Linked DNA regions of Homo sapiens: region 1 is linked to region 2. Evidence: promoter capture Hi-C in human tissues and cell types (Jung and others, 2019). All regions are on one chromosome and are shown on one strand. Each heading gives the region's core, a stretch centred on a gene start or on the middle of the fragment in contact. The rest is flanking DNA. Distances are from core to core; before and after follow the strand shown. Region 1 overlaps PRKAA2 (protein kinase AMP-activated catalytic subunit alpha 2). Region 2 holds the start of PRKAA2 (protein kinase AMP-activated catalytic subunit alpha 2).

What was found. The method cuts DNA at HindIII sites, captures the fragments that hold promoters and counts their contacts. A contact is called where the count stands out against the background at its distance.
Region 1: a contact is called between a fragment that was not itself captured here and the fragment with the promoter of PRKAA2 in region 2, in 1 of the 25 tissues and cell types used here (bladder).

What each region holds. Positions count from the first base shown.
Region 1 is chr1:56,681,334-56,688,845 of GRCh38, forward strand. All of the region lies in intron 2 of PRKAA2 (protein kinase AMP-activated catalytic subunit alpha 2), which reads left to right. Among named protein-coding and RNA genes, the nearest start is that of PRKAA2, 40 kb to the left of the region's middle. The HindIII fragment of the contact is 6,820 bases long and covers 1,084-7,512 here.
Region 2 is chr1:56,639,984-56,646,989 of GRCh38, forward strand. It overlaps PRKAA2 (protein kinase AMP-activated catalytic subunit alpha 2), which reads left to right and starts at 5,331. Exons shown (of 9, transcript NM_006252.4): 1 at 5,331-5,498. The coding sequence starts at 5,405. LOC101929935 (a long non-coding RNA gene) reads right to left here and starts at 5,335. Exons shown (of 3, transcript NR_135111.1): 1 at 5,235-5,335; 2 at 3,517-3,641. The HindIII fragment of the contact is 16,794 bases long and covers 1-7,006 here.

The DNA.
Region 1 (7,512 bases), core at 3,244-5,743, 41 kb after region 2:
TTGCTGTGCAGAAGCTCTTTAGTTTAATTAGATCCCATTTGTCAATTTTGGCTTTTGTTGCCATTGCTTTTGGTGTTTTAGACATGAAGACCTTGCCCATGCCTATGTCCTGAATGGTATTGCCTAGGTTTTCTTCTAGGGTTTTTATGGTTTTAGGTCTAACATTTAAGTCTTTGATCCATCTTGAATTAATTTTTGTATAAGGTGTAAGGAAGGGGTCCAGTTTCAGCTTTCTACATATGGCTAGCCAATTTTCCCAGCACCATTTTTAAATAGGGAATCCTTTCCCCATTTCTTGTTTTTGTCAGGTTTGTCAAAGATCAGATGGTTGTAGATGTGTGGTATTATTTCTGAGGCCTCTGCTCTGTTCCATTGGTCTATATCTCTGTTTTGGTACCAGTACCATGCTGTTTTGGTTACTGTAGCCTTGTAGTATAGTTTGAAGTCAGTTAGCGTGATGCCTCCAGCTTTGTTCTTTTGGCTTAGGCTTGTCTTGGCAATGTGGGCTCTTTTTTGGTTCCATATGAACTTTAAAGTCGTTTTTTCCAATTCTGTGAAGAAAGTTATTGGTAGTTTGATGGGGATGGCATTGAATCTATAATTACCTTGGGCAGTATGGCCATTTTCACGATATTGATTCTTCCTATCCATGAGCATGGAATGTTCTTCCATTTGTTTGTGTCCTCTTTTATTTCATTGAGCAGTGGTTTGTAGTTCTCCTTGAAGAGGTCCTTCACATCCCTTGTAAGTTGGATTCCTAGGTATTTTATTCTCTTTGAAGCAATTGTGAATGGGATTTTTATTGAGCACCTACTATGGGTTGGGTGCTGTTCTAGGCATAGGGGATATAATCATGAAGGACAGAGTCTCTTTCTTGTGTTTTTTATGTTCTGGACAGTAAGTAAACAAATTAACAAGATCATTTTAGGTAAAGATAAGTGCTATGAGAATGAAACATGGTGCTGTCACAGAGTGTGACTAGGAAAGAAGAAGGGCTAATTTAGATTAGGTATGAGGAAGCCTCACTAAGAAGATAGGTTTGACCTAAGACCTAAAGGATGATGAAGATCTGACATGTGAAAATCTGGGGACAGAATGTTTTCAAAGCAAGGGGAAGAGCAACATCAAAGAGGTGAAGCAAACTTCAAGTGTTGTAGGCAAAGGAAGATTATGTACTCTCAGGAGTGGAGTGAGGAGAAGAGAAGTAGTTCAGGAATTCTAAGAGTAGATGGGGACCAGATAACAAAGGGATTTGAAGGCCTTGCTAAGAAATTTGATTGTGTTCTAAATAGGAACTTTTGGAGAGTTGGAGAAGTAACATGATATGAATATAGTGTAGAATGGGTATGGTGGCAGAAGTAGAAGCAGACAGACCAGTTGGGAAGCTATTGCTATAGTCTACCTGGGAGATTATGGTGGCTTTAACCAAAGTGATAATCTAGATTAGTGTTGGCTAATACAGTAGCCAGTGGCCACATGTGGCTGTGTAAATTTAAATTAATTAAAATGAAAAATTTGGTTGTCTGGTCACACTAGCCACATTTCAAGTACTTAATAGCTGCATATGTTTAGTGACCACTGTGTTGGACAGAGCAGATAAAAAACATTTCTATCGTTGTAGGAAGTTCTGTTCAACAGTCCTGGTCTAGATGGAGAGAAATGGATGGATTTGATATGTATTTTGGAGGGAGAACTAATGTATTACTGATGGGTTAGATAAGGAGGAGAAAGAAAGGAATTTTTTTTTTTTTTTTTTTTTTTTTTTTTTTGCTTAAGCAACTGGGATTTTGGGTTTTGGCTTGAGCAAGTAGGTAGTGATAGTGGTGTCATTTTCTGAGATGGAAAGAATGGAAAAGAAACATTAGAGAGATGTGAACATTAAGGATATTGTTTTGGCCATGATAAGCTAAGAATCCATTAGACATGTAAATGGAGATATCATCTATCATCTTTATCTCTCCTGCAACTAGCACAGTAGTAGGTATTCAATAATTACTTGTAGCTCCATAATGACATTTGAACAAGGTCCTGATGGCTCTAGGAGTCCAAGCAAGAACAAAAGAATGAAAGTGTGAGGAATATGGTGTATTGGGAACAAACAGTCTGGTTTGTTTGGTGCACAGAGTATGTATAGGGAAGTGGAAAAATAAAGCCAGAAAGGCAGGTTGTTGGTTGATCCATTCATTCAACAGATGACACCATTTAGGCACTAGGGATACAGCAACAGACAAAAAGGCAACAACAACAAAATCCTTGCTATTATAGAGATTATATTAGTGTGTGGTGGAGGGGTGGTGGGGAAATAGACAATAAATCCCTTATTATATGTCATATGTTAGACAGTGAAGAGGTGAGGGGATATGCCATGTAGATATCTGAAGTGGGTGAATGTTACACATAGAGGGAAGAGCAAATACAAAGGAAAGTAGAAATTCCTGCAGGTCAGAGATCAAGGGAGCAGAATGATCTAGGAAGATTAGAGTGAGAGATAAGGTCAGAGACATAAAGGGCATTATAGGCCATTGTCAGGGCTTTGGCTTTTACTCTTGTCTAAGATGGGAAGCCATTGGAAGGCTTTGATTAGTGGTATGATGTGATCTGACTTACATTTAGACTGTAGGTGAGCAAGAGTTGAAGCAGGGAAACCAATTGGGAGTCAATTGCAGTGATCTGTAAAAGATGATGTTGGCTTGAAATACAGCATAGTGTAGTAGTGTTTAGAAGTAAGCATGTTTTGTATGTACTTTCAAGATAGAGTCAACAGCATTTGCTAACAGATAAAATGTGAGTTGTGAGAGGAAAGAAGTTAAGGATGACGCCAAGGCATCTGGCCTCGGCGAAAAAACAAGGATGGAGTTGCCAGTAACTGAAGTGGAGAAGATTGTAGGAGGAACAGGTTTGAGGTGGGATGTTAGGGGGGTGGTTTCAACAATTTAATTTTGGTTTTATGAAGTTGAAATGCTTATTAGACATCCAAGTAGAGATGTAAGTAGGCTGTTGAATAAGTGAATCTGGAGTTCAGGGGAGAGGTGTAAGCTAGAGAGATAAATTTGGAAGCCATCAGCAGACAGACTGTATTTAAGATATTTAAAGCCCTAAGACTGGATGAAATCACCAAGATAAACAAGAAGTCCAAGGACTGGGCTCTAGAACACTATGATGCTAACATGTCTGAAAAATGAGGAGGAACCAGTAAAAGAGAATGAAAATGATCAGTGAGGTGGGAGGAAAATTAGGGGAATCGGGTATCTTGAAGCCAAGAGAAGAAAGTGTTTTAGGAAAGATCACCAACTGTCCCTTTTACTGGTGAATATTGAGTAAGATGATAACGGAGAATTGACTGTTGGATTTGGCAACGTGGAGGTTGCTGTTGTCTTTGAAAAGAACCAATTTATTGGAATGATGAGGGCAAAAACCTGATGTAAAGGGTTTAAGAGGGAATATGAGATAAAAAAGGGGAGATAGTAACTATAGGCAGGAGAGGAGAGACATAGGAGTGGTAACCAGAAGGAAATGAGGAGTCTAAACAAGGTTAGCTTTTTAAAATGGGAGATATTGTAGAATGTTGGTATGCCAAAAGGAGTGATTCAGTCAAGAGGAAGGAATTGATACAAAAGAAAGAGGGGCTAATTATAGAAGCCAAGTCCCTTCGTAGGTGTGGGAGATAATCCAGTGCATAACTGGAGGAGTTAGTCTTTGAAAGTATATGACCATGGAGTGGTTGGCTGTGTGTGGTGGAAGAAAAGATAATTAGAAATGAGGCATTCAAAGAACTTAAAGGCCATATGTTAAGATATTTTAAGCCTTAAGACTGGATGCGGTTACCAAAGATATGAGTACAGATAAACAAGAAGTCCAAGGACTGAGCTCTAGAGCACTATGATGTTAACATGTCTGTTTATATCACAGATTATCTATAAAGATATCACTTACACCTGAAACAGTGACAGTAGTAGCAATGGGGAAAAAGACATTAATTCAGAATGAGAAGGAGTTAGTAAAAGATTGATTGATGACTATAATGTGAAAAGGTATGAGGAGGTATTATCTGATGGCCTGCACTTCAAAGACAATGAGATTTTTGAGGGAGGAAGTTTTGGGTAAGAATTTCTTTTAGATCAGAATTCATTCATTACTAGACTATGCAAATTTGCCAGCATTTAAGATTTCATTAAATTAATGTGAATTAATGCATCTAGGCTCTGATCAACAGTGGCTTCCAATGTGTCAGAAAAAGAGACACATTATATGCCTTTGGCTAGAGGTACACTACACTACTTAGTCTTTCAAATGAAAACAAAAATTGCAAAAATGAAACAAATCTGATCAAGTATCTAGATTTAAGAGTGGGTTAGAAATTGTGCATTTTGCTGCTATAAAGGATGGAACAACAAAATTCATACTGTGGAATCCTCTTTAACAAACTAACTGGTTTCTTCCACAAAAGAATGCAAGAAAAAAACAACAGAGATAGAGGAGCAACCTATAAATTAGAAGAGACATAAGAGACAAATGAGCCAATTACAATATATTGATTGTGTTTGTATCAATAAATCTTCTGATTGGATATTTGATGACATTCATGGTTTTTTAAATTTATGCATGATAACAATATTTTGCATATTGTGCATACACACATATATTTTTAAGTTATCCTTTAGAGATATGTACAGATTTATTTACAAAGGAAGTGAAATCCAAATTCAATGTGAAATGATGACTGAAAACATATACTTTTACAAAGTTAATAACCAAGACATTAATTACCTTAGACTCTAGAATGTTATAGAAAGTTTGACTTATTCTATATGTCCATACATAAATAAGAAAAGTACTGTCAACTCAATAAGCATGGGCAAAAGACACAGCATTTTCTACGAAGAAATGTATATGGTGTTTTGCAACTGTTGGAGAATATATAAATCCACCAGTTTTCTAAAGATTTTAGCATTGCCAAACTTTCTTTGGAAAACTGTCTTTGGTATTATCTTTTCAATTGGAACATACACAATAACTATGACTCAGCAGTTGCACTCATCAGTGTATATCAAGGAGAAAATCTTGCCATGTAGAAGAATGTTCGTGTTAGTCCATTTTTACATTACTATAAAGGAATACTGAAGGCTGGGTAATTTATAAAGAAAAGAGGTTTAATTGGCCCACAGTTCTGCAGGCTGTACAGGAAACATGGTGCTGGCTTTTACTTCTAGTAAGGGTCTCAGGAAGCTTACAATCATGACAGAAGGCAACTGGCAGCCAGGGTGTCACATGGTGAGGGAGAGCAAGAGAGGAAGGAGGAAGAGCCAGTCTCCTTTAAACAACCAGCTCTCTTATGAACTGAGCAAGAATTCACTTATTACTGAGGCAATGGTGCTAAACCATTCATGAGGGATGGATCTACCCCCATGATCCAATCACCTCCCACCAGTCCCCATGTTCAACATTGGGAATCACATTTCAACATGAGATTTGGAGGGGATGAACATACAAACCATATTAATGTTCACAGCAGCAAATAATAGCAACATTATAGAAACAACCTAAATACTCTTTTTTTTTTTTTTTTTTGAGACAGAGTTTCACTCTTGTTGCCCAGGCTGGAGTGCAATGGCGTGATCTCAGCTTACCGCAACCTCCACCTCCCAGGTTCAAGCGATTCTCGTACCTCAGTCTCCCTAGTAGCTGGGATTACAGGCATGTGCCACCACGCCTGGCTAATTTTTTATTTTTAGTAGACATGGGGTTTCTCCATGTTGGTCAGGCTGGTCTCAGACTCTCGACCTCAGGTGATTCACCTGTCTCGGCCTCCCAAAGTGCTGGGATTACAGGTATGAGCCACCGCACCTGGCCAAAACTCTTTAGTGGTAGAGTAGATGAATAAATACAATAGGATATAACAATGGTCAAATCAAATAACTACAGCAAACACAACAATAGGATTGAATCTCAATAAAATAACTTCTAGAATATTACATAGAGCGTGATACCTGGTTTTTAAAGCAAAGAACAGTTTAACATATATATGAATTTGAATTATTCATATATATGAAATATACATATGTAGAGAGAGGGGATACACACACATGCATATGTACATATATAAACTGTATAAAAGAGGTGGGGAGGAAAGGATAAACAGGGTGTTCAGGATGACAGCTGCATTGGGTGAGAAGCAATGGGATGGGGAAGGCGGATCCCTATATTAATTAGTTGGAAGCTGTTGTCAAGGTCTTGGCCTTTTTGTCTGAGTGATGGGTTTGTAGGTATTACATTATTAAAAATAGTAATTAAATAAAAGGTCATTCATGGACTACTGAAGACAAGTGTCATCAACCAAGCATGATTGCTACATTTCTATGTAACTGAGTTCTAACTAAAGAAAAATCTTATGTGTATGTAGCTACATAAATAATATTCTAAAATCTCAATAGATTTTACCACCAAAAAGGTGTACTCATGAATGTTGATTTTTGGCTAACTTTGGAAAGATTTCTATTTTTTTTGATTTTCATATACTATTTTATGTGGCTATTTCCTAAAAATGCGTATAACTTGGTCAACTGGAAAATGCTTAGGATTTTTCTGGATTATTAATTTATTTTTACCAATTAGAAATGCTGTTTCTGAAAAATTTTTAAACTACATTAGTTTATTTCTCTGCTGTACTAGGAAAATAATACTGAGAAGTATGAGTGATTCATGATTGAATTTCTTGTAATGCTTCAATATACTTGTATTTTAGACAGCACAAGAGATTTGACTTACTCAGGCCAGGCTTAGAATGTAATCCTGGAATTTGCCTTTTCCACTAAATCCTTAATGTAAAACTGTCTTTTTAAGACGTCTTCCTTCTGAAATTTGTTTCCCTTTGTCCCTACCCCATTGTGGTTAGGGGTGGGGGACAAAGGGAAATTTTATTGGTTGAAGTTTTGCTGTAATTTTGCTATGATTTTTCAGTTTCAGATTACTCTGGTTTTGGCTCTAAGCACTCACGTTATTTAAAAGTGCTAATTTATACATTTACTTAAATACCTACTTTGTTATAGGCACTTTACTAAATACATATTCATTAATCAAATTATTGTAATAATAAAAACATATAATTACAAACTGAGATGCGTGGTCTGAAGCTCAGGAAAACGCATCTGTGAGTGCAAAAAGGCACCTCACCTGGACTTAGGAAGTGACTTTTAAGCTGAGATCTAAAGGATGATTAGGGCTCACTCAGGTCATAGTATAGGATTCAGGTCAGTGAAAACAGCTTATACAAAGGAGCTGTAGCAGGAGGAGGTACAGCATGACTAACACTGAAAAATGTAGTATGACTCAGTGTTGTGACTCAAAGGTGAGACCAAACAACAGAGATGGCAAGGGCCTGATTTATTCAGGACCTAAGAGCAATGGGAAACCTTTGAAGATTCTAAATTGAGAGGCTACTGGAGATCATATTTGTGTTTGAAGAGAATCTTTATTTAATGTCTGTCTTTCTGGCTAAACTGTAAGCTCCACGAG
Region 2 (7,006 bases), core at 4,081-6,580:
CAACACTATTAGTTTTACCAATAAGAAGTGAAATGATCTGTTTAAGGACACATTGCTAAGAGGCTAAGATGGAACATGAACTCAGGATATATATGTACATGTACATATACAAATATATACACATAGATAATATATAGAGAGAGTATATGTACGTATATATACACATATATACGTACATATATACATACATACATACATATATGTATATACATGTATACACACATATTTAATTATACATATAATTTTGAGACAAGGTCTTGCTCAGTTGCCCAGGCTGAAATGCAGTGCTGTGATCTTGGCTTACTGCAATCTCTGCCTCCCAGGCTCAGGTGATCCTCCCACCTCAGCCTCCCTAGTAGCTGGGACTACAGGCGCACTCCACCAGTCCAGTTATTTTTTTGTACAGACACATTTTCACCATGTTGCTCAGGCGGGTTTCGAACTCCTGGACTCAAGAGATCCACCTGCCTCGGCCTCCCAAAGTGTTGGGATTTCAGGTGTGAGCCATTGCACCAGGCCATGATTTTTTATTCCAAATACTGAGCTTTCTCTACTACCTCTTGTGATCATGAATAATTATTGAGATAAATCCAACAAGATCGGGATATTCAACAGTTAAAATAATTCAATGTTTCAACTAATAGATGACATTTTTAAAAAAGAGTGGGAAGGGAAAACACTACATATTAAAAGAGATGTATTGACAAAATGGTAAGTGTGACTTTTTTGATCCTGATGAGCATAAACCAACTGTAAAACTACATTCCTGAGACAATCAAGGGATATTCACCACAGAGTGGGTATTTCATAACAGTAAGGAATTAGTGCTAATTTTGTTAGATATGTTAGTAGTAGTATGGTTGTGTTAAAAAGAAGTGCTTATCTGTTAGACCTATATACTGAAGTATTTGCCAGTGAAATAATCTGCTTATTTACTTTAACATACTCCTGAAAATAAATTTTAAAAGTGCAGAGATAGATGGGTAAATGATGACAATTGTTGATCATCACAGATGCTAAGGTTATTTATGTTACTCTACTTTTGTGTATGTTTGAAGTTTTTCACACAAAATTTTAAAAATGTAATTATTGAGCTTGTACTTCCTATAAAATACCATAAACATCCTTTATTATTCATTGAGTGTCCAAATTTTTTATTTTAAATTGGAGACAGCCATAGAAGCCCTATATCATGAATCTATAGACTTCAAAGGTGCTAACTCATGCCTCTCTAACCTCACTAATGACTGCTGTGCTGAGATGTAAAATTATGCTTTGCCTTTAATATGTGTATACATAAAATAAAACTGCACTCTTCCCTGTATTGTTGTTACTTGATTCTCTAGCTTAGTAACTAACCCTTTCTAAAATTCAATTTAGCAAATATTTTTGGAATGATATACCAGGTTCCACTAGGCCCCAGAAACAGCAAGTGGGGTATGAACATATCATTTGCATATATAATATGTAAATATAAATACATATATGTATCTATCTATATGTATGTATAATGTATATGATAATAGAATTGATAAATTCTATATTAGCTATATTAAACATGTACAATGGAAAACCTAAAAAGAAACATGTGATGAAAAACTTAATGAATCATGCTTAATGTCAGAATTATCTTTCTATTCTATTTAAAAATTTACAAAATATAAAGAGGTAATCAAAGAGTATACAGCCAGAAAATGTAGAAAACAGGTATTATAGAGGTATGTTAGATAATTAATTTATAAAAATATTGTTATTTGTCTGGATTTGGGGATGTTTGTGGCATTTGTCAGCTTTTATAAATTTGTAGAGAGTTGTTTTTCACTTCAAATTCTCACTTTCATACCCAATTTTGCATTTTTTTTTTCCCTTAAAGAGATTCCCCCACACTGAATAAACTTCAGGTGCCACATTCTGAATCTGCTTGGATATCTATATTTTGTCAGGCATTGTCCCGGGAGCTAAGGATACATCAGTGAACAAAATAGAGAAAAAAGGCCTCTCTTCTTTTGTGAAGTTTAGATTCTAATTGGGAGAAACAGACAAAAATATAATAAGCACATAAATTAAATAGTATGTTACATGGCTAGTGCTATGTAAAAAAGTTGAGGAGGGTCAGGGGATGAGAGTGCAGGGCAGAGAGCATGAGTGAGATAAAACTGCAATTTAGGCCTGGTGCGGTGGCTCACGCCCATAATCTCAGTACTTTGAGAGGCTGAGGCAGGACAATCACTTGAGTCCAGGAGTTTGAGACCAGCCTGGGTAACATGGCGAGACCCTGCTTCTAAAAAAAAAAAAAAAAAAAAAAAAAAATTTAAAAAAAATTACAAAAAAAAAAAAAAAAAAGAAACTGCAACTTAAATAGGGTGGCCAGGGTAGGGTTCACCAAGAAGGTGACTGTGAGCAAAGACTTGAAATAATTGGTTACTGATAATACCAATGGTGTCTAGTACAGTATATTAGTTTAGTGGTCTTGCATTAATGTCCTACTCAGGACTTATTTTAGAATATTTGAAGGTAAAACAACCCCAAAGTTTCAGAAGCAGGAGGGTAAAGCAGCAATAGTTGGACCAGCGCTAAGAACTGAACACCTCCCTGGGGCACTGGTCTTAGAGATTGGTACTAAACAATAGCGGCGTGAAACCTTCATTGGAAGATAATAAAATGGGAACATTGCATTTACCAGGTCATCTTTAGGGGTGAGACCTCCAAGAGGCATGACCCTTAAGGAGATCTACTCTGATTAACTGTCGAGTTTTCTACTGCTGAATAGGAAGAGGCAAATATGGAACCTTATCTTGAAGTGTCCAGGACAACAGAGGGCTGAGTACTGCCACCAAGAGTTGTCCTTCTTACCCACTTACCATTCAACCTTTCCTCTAAATAAAAGTCAGAAAAACAACAAAAAGTAGTTTAAATACTTACAAATTTATAGGATATATTATTGGACTGCCCAAGAAATAATAAAAATATGAAAATGGAACCACAACTGTGACAATTTTTAACTTTCTTAGAGCACCATACTTTCTTTTGGCATAGGCAGCTGCGGTATAGTAGGCAGACTGAAGGACAAGTCAGAACTGGATATGAGTTCTGACTCTGCCACTTTTTAGCCCTGGGCAAATCAGAAAGGGAAAAACTAAGTTTTATCATCTATAAAATGGGAATAATAATCTTTCTTTTATGACAATTAAATAATTGTGTTTAAATGAACTTCTTAATCAACAAAGTATCATAGATGTTTCACATAGTAACAAAACTATAAGGTAGTCCACAGTAGCTATGTAAGAATCATAGTTATGAAGTATATAATAATTTAACTTACAGTATTTATCAACAAATAGTTAAGACAGTACGAAATGCTTTGAAATCTCAATTTACAGTTAGTCTTTATGTAGCTTCAAGAAAGCAATCATCTAACTTCAAGTGAAGACTTTTCAACATCTTTTAACGGGATATTAGAGCAGAAGACATATACATCTCATACCTCAAAAGCAGAATAGGTCTTTTCTTACTCACTTGACTACTGAAGGAATGACCCTTAACCAGATGAAAGTTCAGCACAAAAATAACTGGCTATTTTCTCAAAATTGCCAGCGAGGTAGAGTGATTCCTAGATGATACTTGTCAGCAAGAAAGATGATCTGAAGAATGAACAAAAATAGCCTCTGTTTAACAGCTGTGATATCTATAATTTATAAGCTGTGATCATCTCTCATCAGATTGTCTTGATGTTTGGATGAGAATGAATGTTTGAAATTTCTATATTTAGTACTTATCAGAAAACAAAGTTTTGTTGTGTCCTATTCTTTTTGATCAATACATTTCAATTTACATATAAACAGTGTTCAAGAGACTTCATGTTTGAGGAATGTGACCTTGAAACTCTACTGGCATGCAGTGCTATAAATGTTTGACTAATCCTTAATTACTTATCCCCAAACAGAATTTTTTTTTACTGTTTTAAAATTTTTTATTTCATTGGCAAATAAAAATTGTATATATTTAGTATGTATATGTTTTGAAATATATTGATTGTGGAATGGCTATAAGTCAAGCTAATTAACAAACATATTGTATACGAATCTTTTTGTGTGTGTGGTGAGAAGCAAATAAACTTTAATCACTGAAAGACAGAACAACATTAAAGAATGAGACAACATTAAAGGAAGGAAGGAAGGAGGGAAGGAAGGGCGGGAGAGAAGGAAGAGAGGCAGAGATAATCGCTTTATTACCTAATTCTTTGCCAGTCTTTTTTCTTTTTTTTTGTGGGGGAGGGTGGGGAGGTCAGTCTTTGAACACGCTGCCTAGGCATCATGCTTCTAATTTCCTCTTACCACTCTTTTCACTTCTATATCACATTTATTCTTCCTTTAATATGTGACCTTATACTGGCCTCGCCCTTCACAATTCCTCTGTCGCTTACGTATTTTACTTTCTGTGGGCAGAACATTGTTTCCCTTTCCACGTCTTTCCCATTTCCTTCTTGTACAGCTGTATCACATTTCGGTACTATATGTTTATATAAGCGCGTGGTAAAACTACATATTTATATAAGCATGTGCTAAAAAACACTCGAGCAAATACCGTGACTGAGATTTTTTGGAAAACTGTGGGCAAATTAGTTAAAATTGAGAGCTCTGGCGGAGAGGGTCTCTTCCATCTATAGGACAAAATAATTGGGAATTACAGAATAAGTAGAGGAGGACAATTCAAGAGAGCACAGAGCTGCGTGCATTCTCCCTGTGCCGCGACCTGTATCCAAAAGCCTCAGACGAGACTTGAGGAGCTTCCTAGAGGCTCTCCTGCCACTGCCCCTTTGGCCAGGGCCCTTCCCGCAGTCTCCCCTCCCGATTCTTCCCTTTTACAGCCCCTCGCTCCCGACATGCGAGGCCCGTCTCTTCTTCCAGTTTGACTTCCAAGTCTTTCCATTCCCTAGGATCGGGCCCCAGTCTCACCCCCTATTTTCACCCCCTTCGGTTTTCCTCAGAAAGGGCCTCCTGCCTCCCTCGGCACCCTCGCCTACCCCCCTCGCAGCACCTGTCGCCTCCGCCCCTCACTCGGACCCCGCGCATCTGGCGCAGCCCCTCCCGCACTCCCGCCCAGCGCCCCGCGTCCCCGGCCCCCGCTGTCGCTGCTTCGGGTTCCGCCGCAGGAGCCTCTCACTCCCGGGAGCGGGCGCCTCGCGCTCCCTCCCTCGGCCCCGCCCCGCCCGCCGCTCGCCCGTTGCTTCCCACCTGGGCCCGAAGCGCCCAGCGCCCTCTCCCGGGACCCCGCGCCCGCCCCGCGCCCCTCGCGGCTCGGGGTCCGCCCCCTCGCCCGCAGGGCCCGCTGCACTGTGGGTAGGCGGCGGCGGCGGCGGCTACGCGGAGCGGCAGGCGGTGGAGCGAGGCCGCGCGCGCCGAAGATGGCTGAGAAGCAGAAGCACGACGGGCGGGTGAAGATCGGACACTACGTGCTGGGCGACACGCTGGGCGTCGGCACCTTCGGCAAAGTGAAGAGTTGAGTACGCGCTCCGGACCGCTGTGCGGGGCTGCCTGACTTGCGGGAGGCCGAGGGGAGAGGCGGGAGCCCCGGGCCTCCGGCGGGCGCGGGGCTCGGCGGCAGGTGGAGCGGTCCCGGGTCGCGCGGAGCTGGGGCCCCGGGAGGGTGGCGCGCACCGCCTCGCCTGGCACCGGCGCCCGGGCCCCACAGGGTCCAGGGAAGAGGGCGGGGGTGTGAGCTGAGGATGGGCGTCCTGGGTTCCAGGTTCCGCGCCCATCTGCCTTTCTGGAGGTCGGAGCAAGGCACTTCTGTGTTCTCTGGACCTCAGTGTCCTCCTCTGCAAAATCGGGAGAACTGGACTCGTTCTGCGAGGCGCCTTCCAGCTCTGAGCCTGTAGGCTTAGGGCGGGGATCATCCACGCTACTGAGGACTGAGGCGCCGTTTCGTGCCGGGTGCCCTGTTAGGTGCTTTACATGGAATCTCATTGAATCCTCACAGTGACTTGGTCAACATGTTGTCCTCACCCTAAAGGTGAGAAAACTAGGACCCCTAGAGATGTAGTAACAAGCCCAAGGTCACACAGAAATGGTCAGTACCAGAGTGAAGTCTAAGATGTCCTCCAATTCTGGTCTTGCTGGGAGGTCCCTGCCATCCCCAGATTCCTTCACGTTCCAGGACTCTCGGTTGTTGGGGGTGACTGTTTGGGGGATGCTCCAGGGGCCAGAGGTTGTGAGTCTTTCTTCCTGGGGTGTTGTTTAACGCTGGAATGCAGCTGGATTGGGTCAGAGGTTAATTAAAACAGAGAGGTCTGAAGGTGTTTGTGTTTGTAAAATGGCTATGGGAAGACTTCTAGGGTAAGGGAGAGAAAAAGTTTCCTTGGTGTTTGGAGGATTTGAGGCTGAGGAGGTCAGGACTGCTAAGGCATATTCTGCTAAGGTCTGTCTTCATGGAGATAGGATCCCCTTTTGAATGTAGAAAAACAGGCTGCTTTTGAAATGTTATACTTTATTCGAGTTAAGTAACTAGTAAGAATAGTTAAGTATGGAACTTTCATTTGTTTTCTTTTTTGTTAATTAGTCACATGTGATTTAATTAACCTGCCTTCTCTCCAGAATAGAGACAGTTGTTTATTAAAAATACTTTGTTGCAAATCCAGAATTATAAGTGAAATATTGACCTTTATTTTTTCTCTTTGCTGAAGAAATGCTGGGTAGGCAGTCTGGAAATTTTATTCTGAGGTCTCTATTTCCTTGTAAAATTCATATTTTAACCCCAAGTCAAGGCTGTTGAATGAGTAGAAGAGACTCATTTTTCATTCCTTTGGTAAGAATCAGCTCCTGTTTTCTTGCACATATTTAATACTCATTCATGTGTTCAAAAAACGCTGAGCACCTGCAACGTGGTAGGCACTGTTCTAGGCAATGAGGATACAGCAAGGAAAAAACAGATCTTTTTGTTTAGCTTTCTAGTAGGAGAAGGCAGACAGTAATCAGAATATATATGTAAAAGGTATGTTTAATTTTAT